Regions from separate parts of the Homo sapiens genome. Here region 1 is linked to region 2. The links are contacts of gene promoters, found by promoter capture Hi-C in human tissues and cell types (Jung and others, 2019). All regions are on one chromosome and are shown on one strand. Each heading gives the region's core, a stretch centred on a gene start or on the middle of the fragment in contact. The rest is flanking DNA. Distances are from core to core; before and after follow the strand shown.

Evidence for each region. Contacts are between HindIII fragments. The study calls those that stand out against the background at their distance.
Region 1: a fragment that was not itself captured here is called in contact with the fragment with the promoter of MRPS6 in region 2 in 6 of the 25 tissues and cell types used here (IMR-90 fibroblasts, heart left ventricle, lymphoblastoid cells and 3 more).

Annotation. Positions count from the first base shown.
Region 1 is chr21:34,326,518-34,333,368 of GRCh38, reverse strand. No RefSeq gene overlaps it. Among named protein-coding and RNA genes, the nearest start is that of KCNE2, 34 kb to the left of the region's middle. The HindIII fragment of the contact is 4,133 bases long and covers 1,405-5,537 here.
Region 2 is chr21:34,069,668-34,076,486 of GRCh38, reverse strand. MRPS6 (mitochondrial ribosomal protein S6) reads right to left here and starts at 2,909. Exons shown (of 3, transcript NM_032476.4): 1 at 2,742-2,909. The coding sequence starts at 2,786. SLC5A3 (solute carrier family 5 member 3) reads right to left here and starts at 2,909. Exons shown (of 2, transcript NM_006933.7): 1 at 2,742-2,909. RefSeq lists silencers at 2,252-2,651, 2,942-3,461 and an enhancer at 2,048-2,998. The HindIII fragment of the contact is 15,607 bases long and covers 1-6,819 here.

The sequences.
Region 1 (6,851 bases), core at 2,222-4,721, 260 kb before region 2:
TCCCTGTTTACTGGCTACAAATTGTTTACTTTGCTACAAATTGAATGCAGAGAGAGGGCTTTGGGGGCGTAGGGCTGCATAGATCTCAGCCTCGAAAAGAATTCAAGGAACCTCAGGCCCATTCCACATGCTCCACCTCAACTATGCGCTAAGGAATGGTGTTGTGTTTGGCATGGTTCCCCATCAGCTCCGATCTGGCCCTGGTGCACAGTGGGCGCGAACGGGTCTCTCATTATAACTCTGGAGTTTAGGTTCTAGGCTGAAGGAAATTAACTGAACCATTCAATACTTTTGACCTATAGGGAAGACTGATTAGTTAGTATGGGATGGAAGGAAGGGGTGCAGGAAGGAGAGAGACATGCTCTGTCCTCCTGGCCTCATGTGGGTGCTCTTACCTTTAAACCTCCCCTGCCCCAGGCCTGGCTTCTGAGAGGGGATCTAATGAGACTTAATGACCGCCTTAGTCCCATTTTTCTCCTTAGTTCATCCTACTTGCTGTCTGAAAGGGACTGAATTGTATCCCTGAACCCCACCCCTCCCAATTTATATGTTGAAGCTCTAACCCCAAGTAACTCAGCATGTGACTATATTTAGAGAAAAGGCCTTTAAAGATGTGATTAAGTTAAAATGAGGTCTTTAGGGTAGGCCCTAATCCAATCTGACTGGTGTCCTTATAAGAGGAAAATTGGACACACAGAGACACACCTGGGATACACACAGACGGCCACCTACCAGCCAAGGTGAGAGGCCTCAGGGGAAACCAGTCCTCCTTTCAACAGGTGACCCTGGACTTCTAGCCTCCAAGACTATTAGGCAATCAGTGCCTGATCAGTGCCTGTTGTTGAAGCCACTCGGTCTGTGATACTTTGTTATGGCAGCCGGAGCAGACCAAGACACTGCGTAAGATCAGAGATTCTGACTCTCTCCGAGCTTTAGTTTCCTGGTCTATAAAATAGGAATATCATCTGTAATTCACAGGCTCTTGTAACGGTTAAGTGTGACAGGGCACATGGCACAGGATCTGTGCACAGAGCAGGTACAGGCTAAATAATTATGATGATTAAAATTGTCGTTACTGCTATTAGAGACCAAGGATGTTCATACATTACTTACAGATCTGTACCAAATGCCATCCCTAAAGTCTCTCCATTGATTCAATGAATAAGTACCAAAGAATTTAGTGTTTTGGATAGCCCTGGAGATTCTACACTCTCTCTGGGCCACTGTGTCACACAACTCTGGAGGGCACTCTCAGAGGTGTGTTGCCCCTAAACCAATTCCCTCTTCATGACTTTACATCCTCACCAATTTTAAAGCATGATTGCTCTCAATTGGTCATTGTCAGCTTCCAATGGCCGGCCACTCCGCTCCTCATCTGCAAGGCCCTCGTCTCCTTGGCAAAACTTCTTGAACCACCACTGCTCTGTACATTCCTTGGCAGTTCCTGGGCCAAAAGCATTGCTGATGTTTCCAGTTTTCTCCACTGCTTTATGACCCGTTTTGAACTCAAATAAGAAAATCACTCAAATTTGCTTTTTGTCTAACATCATTTCCATAGTCTAAAATAAACATAAACAGCAAGTAACGTCATTAGCAAAAAAAAAAGTGAGAAATGCCCATTAAAATGATGTATAACATAATTACATTTATTTAAGAATATGTTCCAATGTTAAACAGCAAGTTCCAATAATGCAAAAACGGCAATTCCTTTTGCAGTCACCTAATAGCTTCCAAGAAGCAGAAGAAAGAAGCAGTGATCCAGGTTGATTGCCCCGGTCCAGTCCTGGCCCCCACACTTATTCTCTATGTGGTTTTGGGCAACTTACTGAACCTTTCTGTGCCTCGGATGCCGCATCTACAAAATGGAGATGATAATGGTACCTTCCTGCTACAGAGCTTCTGAGGATGAAGTGGGATCTTGTAAGCACAGAACAAGCATTGCCATCATTGTTTGCACTCATGTGGTCCCAAGGAAATATCCTTTCTCTTAGAGGTAACATTTTAGTATGAGGCTCTTAAAAGTGGAAATCACTAGTTTAAGAGCCAAAGAAGTATATCTCTAACAGTGGAATCACAGGCACTGTGGAAGGCCAAGGGTCCTTCCTTGCGTCCTCCAAATCATATCCCCCAGGCAGCTGCCCACATGTGCTGGCCACACTGAGGAGCCCAAGGAACAGCCTCATGAGCTGGTTTTCGCAAAGTGGCCAGTCACCTCTCACCAACACTGAACTCAAGGTTTTAATTCATTAGATATGCAGTGGGGGTTCCTATGCTGTTTAAATCAGCTCAGTGAAAGACTTACCTTTGCAATGGAGACCATCATCTCAGAAATGCAACAAAAGAGAGGCTGGGTCCCTGGCCTCAGGCCTACAGAATGAGAGGGGAATTGCGTGGTGGGAGAATGAACAGCTCTGGGGGTTTTGCCGTGCACAGTTGGAGCTGTTACCAGCCCAGATCACGACGCCTTGTTTATTGATTTCACAGGCTCACAGACCATAATATGATGAATATCACTTTTCCACTGGGGCGAAAGTCACACAGCCAAAGAAGCGAGGCCATCATCCAGAAAACAGAAATGTTTTTGTCTGAGTGTGCCATTGGAGACACTGAAAAACAAGCTCTTCAGGTAATTACCGAACTTCAGCAAAGTGAGGCTCTTGGGTGAATTATCTGCATAATTGCCTTCGCTCTCCAGTTAGTCCATGAAGACGTGATCTCGGCAAATCACCCACTCACCTAAGCCAGTACATTTGAAGTTGGGCAACAATAGTAATGATGATGCCGATTTAAGAAACGAAGAACCAGGCTCTGCTGAGCAGCAGAGGCTGCCGCAACTGCTTGATGTTTACGGACTTGTATTTAAGGACAATTCCTTTGGCAGTGGGTTTGATGAATGTTTTTTATGCTATGTCTACAATAATGCTGGAAGTTGTAATTCTCACCTTGAGGATTGTCTTGTTCCCCCAGCCAAGCTTGTCATCTTAGATGCCTTTCCATGGTCTCCTGTACCCTCACTCCTGGGGGTGTCCGCAGCAGGCCTGTTCCTGAGGCAAGCCTTCTGGGCTGTTTTGACCAAACTGGACGCCATCTTGTAAAATCGGCACGCTTGCATGGAGACACCCTTCCTGTCCCTGCCCTCTGCTGGCCAGTCAGAGTTAAACTCCTTGGGCGTCCAGAGCACTCGAGCACCTCTCTGCCTCTCCTAAACCCCTCACCACCATCAGGATCCCAATAGGAAACATGTGGCATGGCAAAACGAGATCACTCAATGATGGAATAATTACAAAAATAGGAGGGAGTGTAGCGAAGCCTCCTGGGGTGGTGCAGGATACCAGGGTTAGTAGTGTTGGCGCTGTTATGAATCCATACAGAAGAGACAAGGAATGTGAAATACCCAAACATGGTATGGGAGGGTCACGCACAGCAGGCCACCTTGAGAGGAGCAGTGAGGGACACAGCTGGCCTAAACCACTTTGCGGGAAGGGACCAGCCCTTGACACCTCCTGCCTGCCTCTGATCTCACGTTGGGCACCCCACTAGCTGAACCCAACCAGAAGGCAGAGTCTCCATGATCCCATACATGCACCTACACAGGGCAGGCTCCCAGGGCAGAGAACAGGGGCACCAAGCAGATGTAGGAGGGTAGAGAGAAGATATGCGGCAAGCATAGAAATCAAAATTCAACTGTGAAAAGGATCCCAGCTGAGAAGTTCAGAGTTAAATTTCCTTGGATGTTGTAGCCAGTACACCCTACATCCTAAGAAGAGCCAATTGATATAAAACCTAGAGCTTGCTTCCTTGACTAGGCTGAGATCATGCTTTTACTTTGGGTCTGATAAATTATCATAACCCTAGTGATACAGTTTGGATTTGTGTTCCCACCCAAATCTCATGTCAAATTGTAATCCCTGATATTGGAGGAGGGGCCTGGTGGGAGGTGATGGGATCATGGGAGTGGAGTTCCCCCTTGCTGTTCTTGTGATAATGAGTGAGTTCTCACAAGATCTGGTTGTTTAAAAGTGTGTGGCACCACCCCCTTTGCCCTCTTCCTCCTGCGCCAGCCATGTAAGATGTGCCTGCTTCCCCTTCACCTTCTACCATGATTGTAAGTATCCTGAGGCCTCCCAGCCATGCTTCCTGTACAGCCTGCAGAAATGTGAGCCAATTAAACGTCTTTTCTTTATAAATTACCCAGTCTTAGGTAGTTCTTTATGACAATGCAAGAACAGACTAATACACCTAGGAAGGTATAGAAATTTTTGTCTTATATAGTCACTGCAAGTTCAGGATGAGAAAAGCATAAAAATTAGTAAAAATATAATGAAAAAAATCAGGACCAAATACTAGTAACTTTATAATTGTTTTACATGTAACTGTAATGAAGTTTCATTATCATTGTGATAATATCCAAATGGTTTGAAGCATGTAAATGAATCCAATATATTAGACTTGTGAGTTGAATTGAGTGATTAGAAAAATTTTATTAAAGAAGTTTGTAATTAATGTTTAAATACTGAGGAATTTTTAAATTTGTAAATTCATAAGTTTTATTAGTTGGGTGTGTTTAAATTTTTAGAACAATATTTAATAGGCTTATGGGATTAATAAGTTATGCATTAAATTAAGTAGACATAGTATGAGTATTGGTCAAAGCCCTTGGATGTCCACAAGGGTGTGTTGATGTTACTATGGACCTAATGACATAGGGTCCAACCCAAGCATCATCATGTCTGTGAAGATTTCATTGTTCCCTGTGGGGATTTCTCATCTCTCAATTCTTTAGCTGCTTAGACCCTTTTGGGGGGTTCCTGCTGCAAAAGCAAGTTTTTGCTGTTTGTTATTTGGGGTGTTTATACCTTGAATCCCAAGGCTGTTAAGTCTTTGGGAGACAAGCACGCCCCCTGAAACAGTCTTCACTTCTTTTCCATTTTCCATTTCTCCAGGCTCAATATTAGACACATATTATCTCCAGGCTCAATATTAGACACATATTAAGGACTCGTGTATGACACAAGCCCGTCTTTTGAGGAGCCTTCAACCCTGTTAACAGAATTCATCAATGTTTTAAAAAGCTTGTTTTTAAAAGTTTGATGCATTCCTACTCTGTGTCCAATGCTACAACAGGCCATGGGGACACAGCAGTGAAGGAAACAAGGTCTCTGCCCCTTAGCAGGTCACAGCCTACGCAATATCTCACAGAACTACAATTCTGAGCAACTTGTCCTTAGTGAGATGTGCACGCATGACAGTAAGTGCCACAGGACTTGAGAAGGAAGCCATTACTGAGTGACAGTGGCAGAGTGGCAGGGTAGACCTTAGGGAGTCAAGAGGGTGGAGGTGGAGGATGTATTCTTATTCCACATAATAAGAGAGGTAGACATTGATTTCTGTTCTGGCTATGTCATGTGTGAGCCACCATCTATTAGGGATACTGCTGAGAATAGAACCCTACAGAGGTGATGTGGGGAGACCAGAGCAGAGTGAAGACACTCTTGGAATTTCAGAGTGTCACCGGTTGAGGATAGATTCATGAGTCACATCAAAATAATATTAAGTATTAAAAGTAGTATTTTAAATTCTAGACATTAATTCTAGACATTCCTTTCTGCTCACCAACTTCTCCCATTCTATAAATGAGGGCATTGCAAAGTTAGGACTTTTCTATCTGATACAGCCAAGGTTGGGGTGATATGGAGATGTACAAAGGGGAGGGTGGAGAGCAGCAATAGGAAGGACAGAAGTGCCGGAAGAGTGTGGGGAATCTTTCTTAGGAAAAACTACTTCTGAGGATTCCTGAAAGGGCTCAAGCCTTGGAGGGTGTCTCTACGCTCTATGCCAGCCATGAGTACTAGAGAAGCAAAAACTGGGGGTTACATGTCCAGGAGGACAATTCAATAATGTTTCAACTTCCCTGCATGCACATCAGTGCTGAGAGTAGCCAGATGTCTCCCAGGTGCCCAAAGTTGCACAGAAGCAATAGAGAGCGTGCCAGCTCTTAGAAGCTTTCAGGGCCCCGGGAGGATGCTGCGTTGACATACATTGCTGAGGACAGGGACCTGACAAGAATGACAGAAGCCTCAGGGTGCACCAGGGTGCATGGAAGACAATGAATGGTAACCTGGTGCCAGCCTCCTGCTCCCCAACCCCCAGAAATCATCAGCATTCCAGGGGAAGGGAGAACAGGGCAGGGAGGAAGAATCTGAGATGACTCTGGGTTCACCAACATTTTAGTTTTCACCATGTAGCACAGTAAGAGCTTGTAACAGAATGTAAAATTGGTTATTTTAAAAATTAAAATAATGAACATTTCTGAGTTCATGACCTGAGATTTGTGCCACATATTTAAGACTAAAAGGAAAAAGTAGAGACATTGAAACAGACATAAGAAGGTAAGACAAAAGCCAGGAGAGGGATATGGATGTCACAGAAGTCAGAGGAGGAAAGAAACTCCTGAAGCATGGGTGGCGGTCTGGGATGCCAAATGCCACAGGACCAGGGATGAGCCACAGTGTCTATGTCGTGAGAAATGAGGCAGTGGGCTTTCAAGGGACAGAGGCCATAAATACTAACAGTCAATGCTTCTCTAGACTCTACCAGCTGCCTCTGTCTGCAACTTGTCATGCATCTTGAACTTGAGGAGATATGGGGGCATGCACTTTTTTTTCAGGGAATCTGCCACTCTTGCTCACAGACCATTTAGCCCTTTTTCGAGCCTGATACAGGCTCATGATCAGCAAATGTGACCAGACACAGAACATACATTTATAAGCATCGATGAAGAGGATTCAGCCCAGTTTCATGGTCCTAGAGAACTTCTAGTCATCATGATCCATCAAGACCAGTATGGGAAG
Region 2 (6,819 bases), core at 1,660-4,159:
TTGGAATTTCTGGGTGACTAATTGTACAACTGTATAGTTCAATATGACTGACTCTACATAATACACTCTGAAATCTTTCAATGGGCATTCCCGCAACTGACTTTGCTACAATCCAGATACTGTGACAGCCAACACAGGGCCTGTATTTTAAATTTTAAAACTTTGCAAGCTCAATTTAAAGGAGTCAAGCTAGGGTCAAAAAAAAAGTAATGAGGACAGGGAGGAGTTAATATTCTCCAAACAGACTAAGAATGCTCTCCAGGCTGAGTACTGCGGAGAAAAAACAGGAGAGCAGCTCTGGGAGTCCAAAGGCTGGAAAACTATAGTTTCTTAACTTCCATATCCGCTGTTAAAGTTGCCTAACACAGCATTTTCCTCAATTCCAAGATGCACAAATGATTTGGGGAGGAAAGGAAAATACATCATATTAAAGGGGTAAAGAGGTATACACTTAAGAATCTAAAAACGTGGAAGATACGCAACTTTGAACTGAGGAGCTTCAATACCCTTCTTGCAACAGAAGCACAAAGTGCCTCGGGTTAGAACTGTGGTTTCTCCAAGGCCTGCTACCGGTGTGCAAGCTCACAGTCGCATTTTTCATTTCATAAGCCTAGAGTTAACTTTTTAAATTCGTTTCCCCCCAAACATTCATCCTATTTTAGAATCCTATTTTCCTAAACTGAAAGCAAGCAAACTGGTCTAAAACCTGGAAGTCTTTGTGTTTGTGCCACATTTACAAGCTACAGATAGGTTTTTGAACAAATAACTGAGAAGCTATTGTTTAATATTACTTTATTTAGGTCAAGGATCTCCTCAACATAACTTCGCCATTGTACATAAGTCACCACTGTTACAACCTTCTATCTACTGCCATGGGGCCTCTTTCTCCAAGAGGCAGTTCACCTTTATTATCTACTTTCTAGGGCTTTTTTTCTTTTTTTTGCCCCCCTTCCCTCATGCGAAGATTTCAAGGAAGGTTATTTATTATTTTAACCAAATTACGCTCTGTTGATCTGAACTAGAGTGAAAAATGGGTGCTCCACATCCAAAGGCTATGTTATTACAGGACATAAAAAAAAATGGTAAAAGAAATACACTTAATACTTGCAGCCATGTTAACCAAGATACTTGGCAACTATGGCAAAAACAAAGGGGAGGGCAAGTCTTCATTTCAAAGGTTTCAAAGGGTTACAGAATGAGCAAATATTATTGCCTACAGGTTGCCTCTTTCAGTGTCACCTGCTACCTCCCCAAGACAAGGAAAGTAAACAAAAGGAATTTCAGTAACGAATTTCCCAGGTTCCACATTCCCTAAAACACGTAAGTTGAAGGGAGGGCTTAAACAACTTCCACCTAATTAAAAATCTTCCCTTTTAATAATGCTTTGTTTTCACTGCTCCTATCCTTTCGGAGTTACATATGCTGGTAAGCAAGGAGGAGGGCCAAAAGGGATATTCAAGAGGCTGAACAGATACTATCTTAACTTCTTCCAAATCCATGAAGAACAAGCTGGGGGACACAATGGCATGCCTGGCCAGGCTGTCTGGACCTCATAGAGAGGCACTGGCGTCCCTTCCCAGTTAACAATATGCAAAGCACACTTCCTAACAATCTCCCGACGCTCCGTGATTGTTAGTTTATCAATTGAGCTTAAGTTCAACCAAACTTGGTAATACTCCTCGCAATTGACCTGGAGCCTAATTTCAAACGTAAAAATGCGTCCACTCCTCTAGCGCTGTAGGAAGCTGTGCTTACAAAGTTCGGACGTGGTACAATGATTTTTGTTTTATTACACCTGGTGGAGAAAAAAAAACATAACACCAAACTACGTTACCGAATTCCGAATTCACGGGAGAATGGGGATTTCGGCGACGACTTGAGGAGTACATGACCCAGGACAGAGGACGAAGTGAGCTGCCTCCGGGCCGCGGGCCCCTGTCCTTGGCCACGCCGTCACCTGAAAGGGGCCGCTGGTTCGCTTAGCATCCCTCCAAACCTGAAATCCCCTACCTCAAGATCAATCAAAAGCAGGGGGAAGAAAGTGTCTTCTGGAGGCGCAAGAAAGGCCACAACTTGGATGAATGAAACTGGGCTAAGGGCACCCGGAGCGGGATTTTCGCTGAAGTCAGAAAAAGAAAAGTCAAAAGATTTTTTTTTAACATGAGAGCGATTGCAAGAGACTGGAATACAGACAACGGCACAAACAAGCTTTGGAGGAACGCTTTATTGGGCGCGGACGTTCCGGGCGGCCGGCGGGCGCTAGAGCGGAGGCGGTCGGCGGCAGCCGGCGGGCGGCGGAGCGGGACGGACCAGGCGGCGGCGGCGGGGCCGGCGACGAGGCAGCTTCACGACTGGCGGGGACGGGCCGGAGTCGGGCTGGGCGCCCGCGCGTGTCCTCCCGCGGACCTTCCACTGGACTCCCGCGGGCCGGCGCCGGGATCGGGGTCGGGGCCCGCTCGGTCCGCCCCGCCCCCCGCCCGGCGGGCCGCTTGCGAGGCACACCCTCCCGGACCGCGCACACGCGCAGGCACACCCCCGCCTCCCGCGCGCACGCGGCCGGGCCCGGCCGGCCCACGCGCGCCCCCTTCCCGCGGACGCCCGCCGCCCGCCCGCCGCCCCGGCCTCCTCCGAGGAGTGCAGGAAGGCCCGGGGTCCCGCGGCCAGGGCGCGCGGGGGACGGCGGCCTAGCGGCAGCGGGGGCGCCCGCGCGGGAAGACCGGCTCTGAGGGAAGGTCACTTACCCGCTGCATGGCTTTCAGGATTAAAGCCAGCTCGTAGCGGGGCATGCCTGGAGGATCGGCGAGTGCGGCTCGGAAGCCAGCCGGTTCCCGGGACGCGAAGGGGCGGGACGGCGGGGACAGTGGGGACCTAGAAACTGCTGCGCCGGACGGCTCCCAGGCGGCGAAAGCACGGTCCGAGAGCGCGAGCCCGGGCTTAAAGGCGCTGGCAGCTGCGCAGACGCCGCGCCACGCCCCCTCGGCGCGCCCCGCCCCGCCCGCGCGCCTTGCCGCCGCCCCGCCCCCTCTCCGCCCGCGGGCGGCCGCCACGCCCCCTCCGCAGCCCCGCACCCGCCGCACCGCCCCCGCCCCGACCCCAGCCCAGCCCGCCGGCCGCGGCTAGGGGCGGTGCTGCAGACGCGGCCCAGAGCGGCTCGCGGCGGCCGCACGCCCCCTCGCGACCCTGCCTGCCCCTACCCCGCCTCCTGCCATGCCTGCTACCTAGCTCTCGAACCGGCTGGAACTTTCCATGCCTTCCTTCTCCTCCCGGGCGGCGGGCGAGTGAGTGCCCGCCAGTGCGCGTGCGCTGCGGTGCGGTCTCGTCCGTGCGCGTGCCCCTCGCCCGCGACTCCCCGGAGCTAGGGACCTTCGCGGCGCAAGGCGGGGTCGCGGCCGGCCCGGGGGCTGTGCGGCCAACGGCTGCTCGCAGGGGTTCTGGAACATTCCCGCCCGGGGTCGGTAGGGGGGTGCAGCTCTCGCCCCCAGCCACAACTCTCAGGTCTGACGCGGCTGACCAGGCCCCCTACCCGGCGAGGAGCGCGCTGGCACAGGCCGTGGGCCGCGGCGCGCGGGCTCGGGTCTGACTCAGTCCCTTGGCACTGCGTGACCTTGGGCCTGCTGCCTGTGCCGAAAGTGGGGACCCGAGTGAGTTACTGCACGTTAACCTCCGAGGACGGTGCCTGGTACACACAGGCGCGATACGGGCATTTGTGGTGTGCCCCTGACCTGCCCCCACGTGTTTCAGCGGAGGGCAGGCGAACACCTTAACTCTATCTCATTTCTTTAAATGTTTCCTCCGCTTTCACTTAAAGGCTAGGCTGAGTGCCTGGGAGACCCTTTAGCAACTGTCTAAGGTGGGCAGGGGCATACGTTCTGCCCTTGCCATCCCTTTACACCCACATGGTTCTCCGCCCTCCAGCCAGGGGCTCTGCAAGTGCAGTTTTCTCCAGCGCCCTTCCTTAGAGGTTGAGTACCCTGCAGCTGAGGCCTCTGCCCCTTGTTTGCCCCATTAAAAGCTCTGTACGTGGAGTGTTTGTCAACTTAAAGTGCTTTAACGTTAATAGGTAAAGTTTAGTGAACACTTACTCTGCATCAGGCCCCATGCCAAGGCTGGTGGATGTGTCTCCTAAAATTCTCACAACAGCCCTGAGGTGACAAAGATTCTTTGCTTGGCCAAACTTTAGTCAGGCTTCTGAATCTCATGCTAGGCCCATCTGTGCACTTCCTTGTAAAATCCAGTTCTAGCACAGAACCCCCATCCCCTCATAGCAGATCAGGTTCCTCATCTTCCTCTATCCCCCAGTCATGTCTTTTCACCCTGGCCTGAGTTCTACAAGAATCCTTTAGATCGGTTGAGCCAGAATCCCTCTTCCCCCGATGGTTACTCTTAGTGATTTTACATGGCCATAAATTTCTACTTGCCGACGCTGCATTCAGAATTGGAGCCCACTCTCTCTCCCCGGGTTTCCCTGATCCCTGTACCCATCGCGTTGGTCCTGAATAAAGTCTTTCTTACCATGCTTTAGTAAGCATCACTGAGTAATTTTTTTAAACAGAGGCAAGCACTGTTAACCCCATATTAGGGATTAGGAAATGTAGGCACAAAAAGTTTTGTAACTAGTCCAAGGTCATACAGTAATAGAAACAAAGTACTTTTAGCCGCCCCTCTACCCTTCTGACCTCCGGTTCTCCTACCACACAGATGAAGATGCTGATTGTTATTCAGTGGATTAACCGTGTAGTCCACGTAAGCCAAGATTAGAGTACCTTTGTCACCTTACCCAGAGGTTACCATTTCACATCCCATGCGTCTATTTGTGACATATGGGAGGTAGGAGATGGAGATGAACCCAAGTTTTTCTGAGATAGCTGGATTTTAACATTTTCTATTTTTAGACTTGTCTACAACCCATACCTGTGTGAAGCCACACAGGTAATCCAAATTGCCTGGCTAAGTGTCAATTAACTTCATGTTTGGTTTAAATAAGTAGCGTACTATAAATAACAGAAGGAAACAAGGAATTTCTGGACCTTCAGAAGTGAGTTACAGGCTGGGTGCAGTGGCCCACGCCCGTAATCCCAATACTTTGGGAGGCTGAGGCGGGTGGATCACCTAAGGTCAGGAGTTTGAGACCAGCCTGGGCAACATCGTGAAATCCTGTCTCTAATAAAAATACAAAAATCAGCTGGGTGCGGTGGCACTTGCCTGTAGTCCCGGCTACTCGGGAGGCTGAGGCAGAAGAATCGCTTGAACCCAGGAGGCGGAGGTTGCAGTGAGCCGAAATCGCGCCACTGCACTCCAGCCTGGACGACAGAGCGAGACTCCATTAAAAAAAAAAAAGTCAGTTACAGATTTTCTAGAATGGTCCCACCCCGACTGTCCCCTGTCTTGTCAATTACATGACCCAGTTTAGTAATGAGAAAATAAAGACCCCGTAGTAATATGCCAAGTCAAACACTGAGGCGGCGCAATGAGCTGACTTCAACTCAGAGCATTTCCTCTTGGAAGCTCTTTAGTTTTCCCTTAATGCCCAGGGATGAGTGAAGACCTGGCATCTTCTCTACTCCTTCTAACTTGACAAGTGGTATAAGGAAATTAACCTGACTGCGTAATACCTCACCACAGAGTCAGCATCCCCAAGCCCTCCCAGTCTGGTAGCCACCCACAGACTCATTCCATTTCTTAAAAGCAGAGAGAGGGCAGCTACTGTGATTTTCCCCCTTCAACCTTTTTTTAACAAGCACAGAAGCGGCCGGGTACGGTGGCTCACGCCTATGATCCCAGCACTTTGGGAGGCCAAGGCGGGCGGATCACCTGAGGTCGGGAGTTTGAGACCAGCCTGACCAACATGGAGAAACCCCGTCTTTACTAAAAATACAAAATTAGCCGGGCATGATGGCACGTGCCTGTAATCCCAGCTACTTGGGAGGCTGAGACAGGAGAATCGCTTGAACCTGGGAGGCAGAGGTTGCAGTGAGCCAAGATCGTGCCATTGCACTGCAGCCTGGGTAACAAGAGCAAAACTACATCTCAAAAAACTAAATAAAAAATAAAAAAGCACAGAAGCAGAATGCTTGTGGCTTCATTTAAAAAAAAAAAGATTTTTTTTAAATCACGAGGAATGCTGTTGCAAATTTAGTGTCTTCCTACTATAACTACAAACTTAAATTCACCAAAACAATTTTTAACTTTATACTATGTATAGTCAGCATAATAGAAATATATTACTGCAGCATTTGATATATTAATTTAAAAATGACTCTCTTAGATTCTCCAAAACATTTATTATGGTATGTGTTTAAGATTTGATTAACCAGAAGTTTGATTAATTTTCAAGTAAGTTTTTTTGAGGGGGAATAGGAAAGAAGAATAAGAACAGAAGTTGAAATCCAGCCCTATTTGTAAAAAAGGAACCTCAAGATATGCCCTGGGTCAGTTTAATCACCTTTACCTTCTTCTTTTATGTTGCTGTATAATGAGACTTGACCTTGAGCTTTCAATCGTTAATCCTCAAAGATGGCCATTATTTTTATTACTGAGTCTAACATTTTGAGCATTAACTATGAACCAGAACCTATTTTAAATTATTTGCATGTATTAACTCTCAGTTCTTACCACAAAGATATGTATTATAACTGCCCCCATTTTACATATAGGGAAAAGGAGACTTCATAAACATCTCAGCAACTTGCCCCAAATTATGCAGAACTCAGAGCCTGCACGCTTAACCCCAATACCATACAGCATTATGTTTACCAGCCAGCGCAAACTGAGCAACTATCTGTCGATCAACCAACTTTTATTGTAGTCCTACTCTGTCCT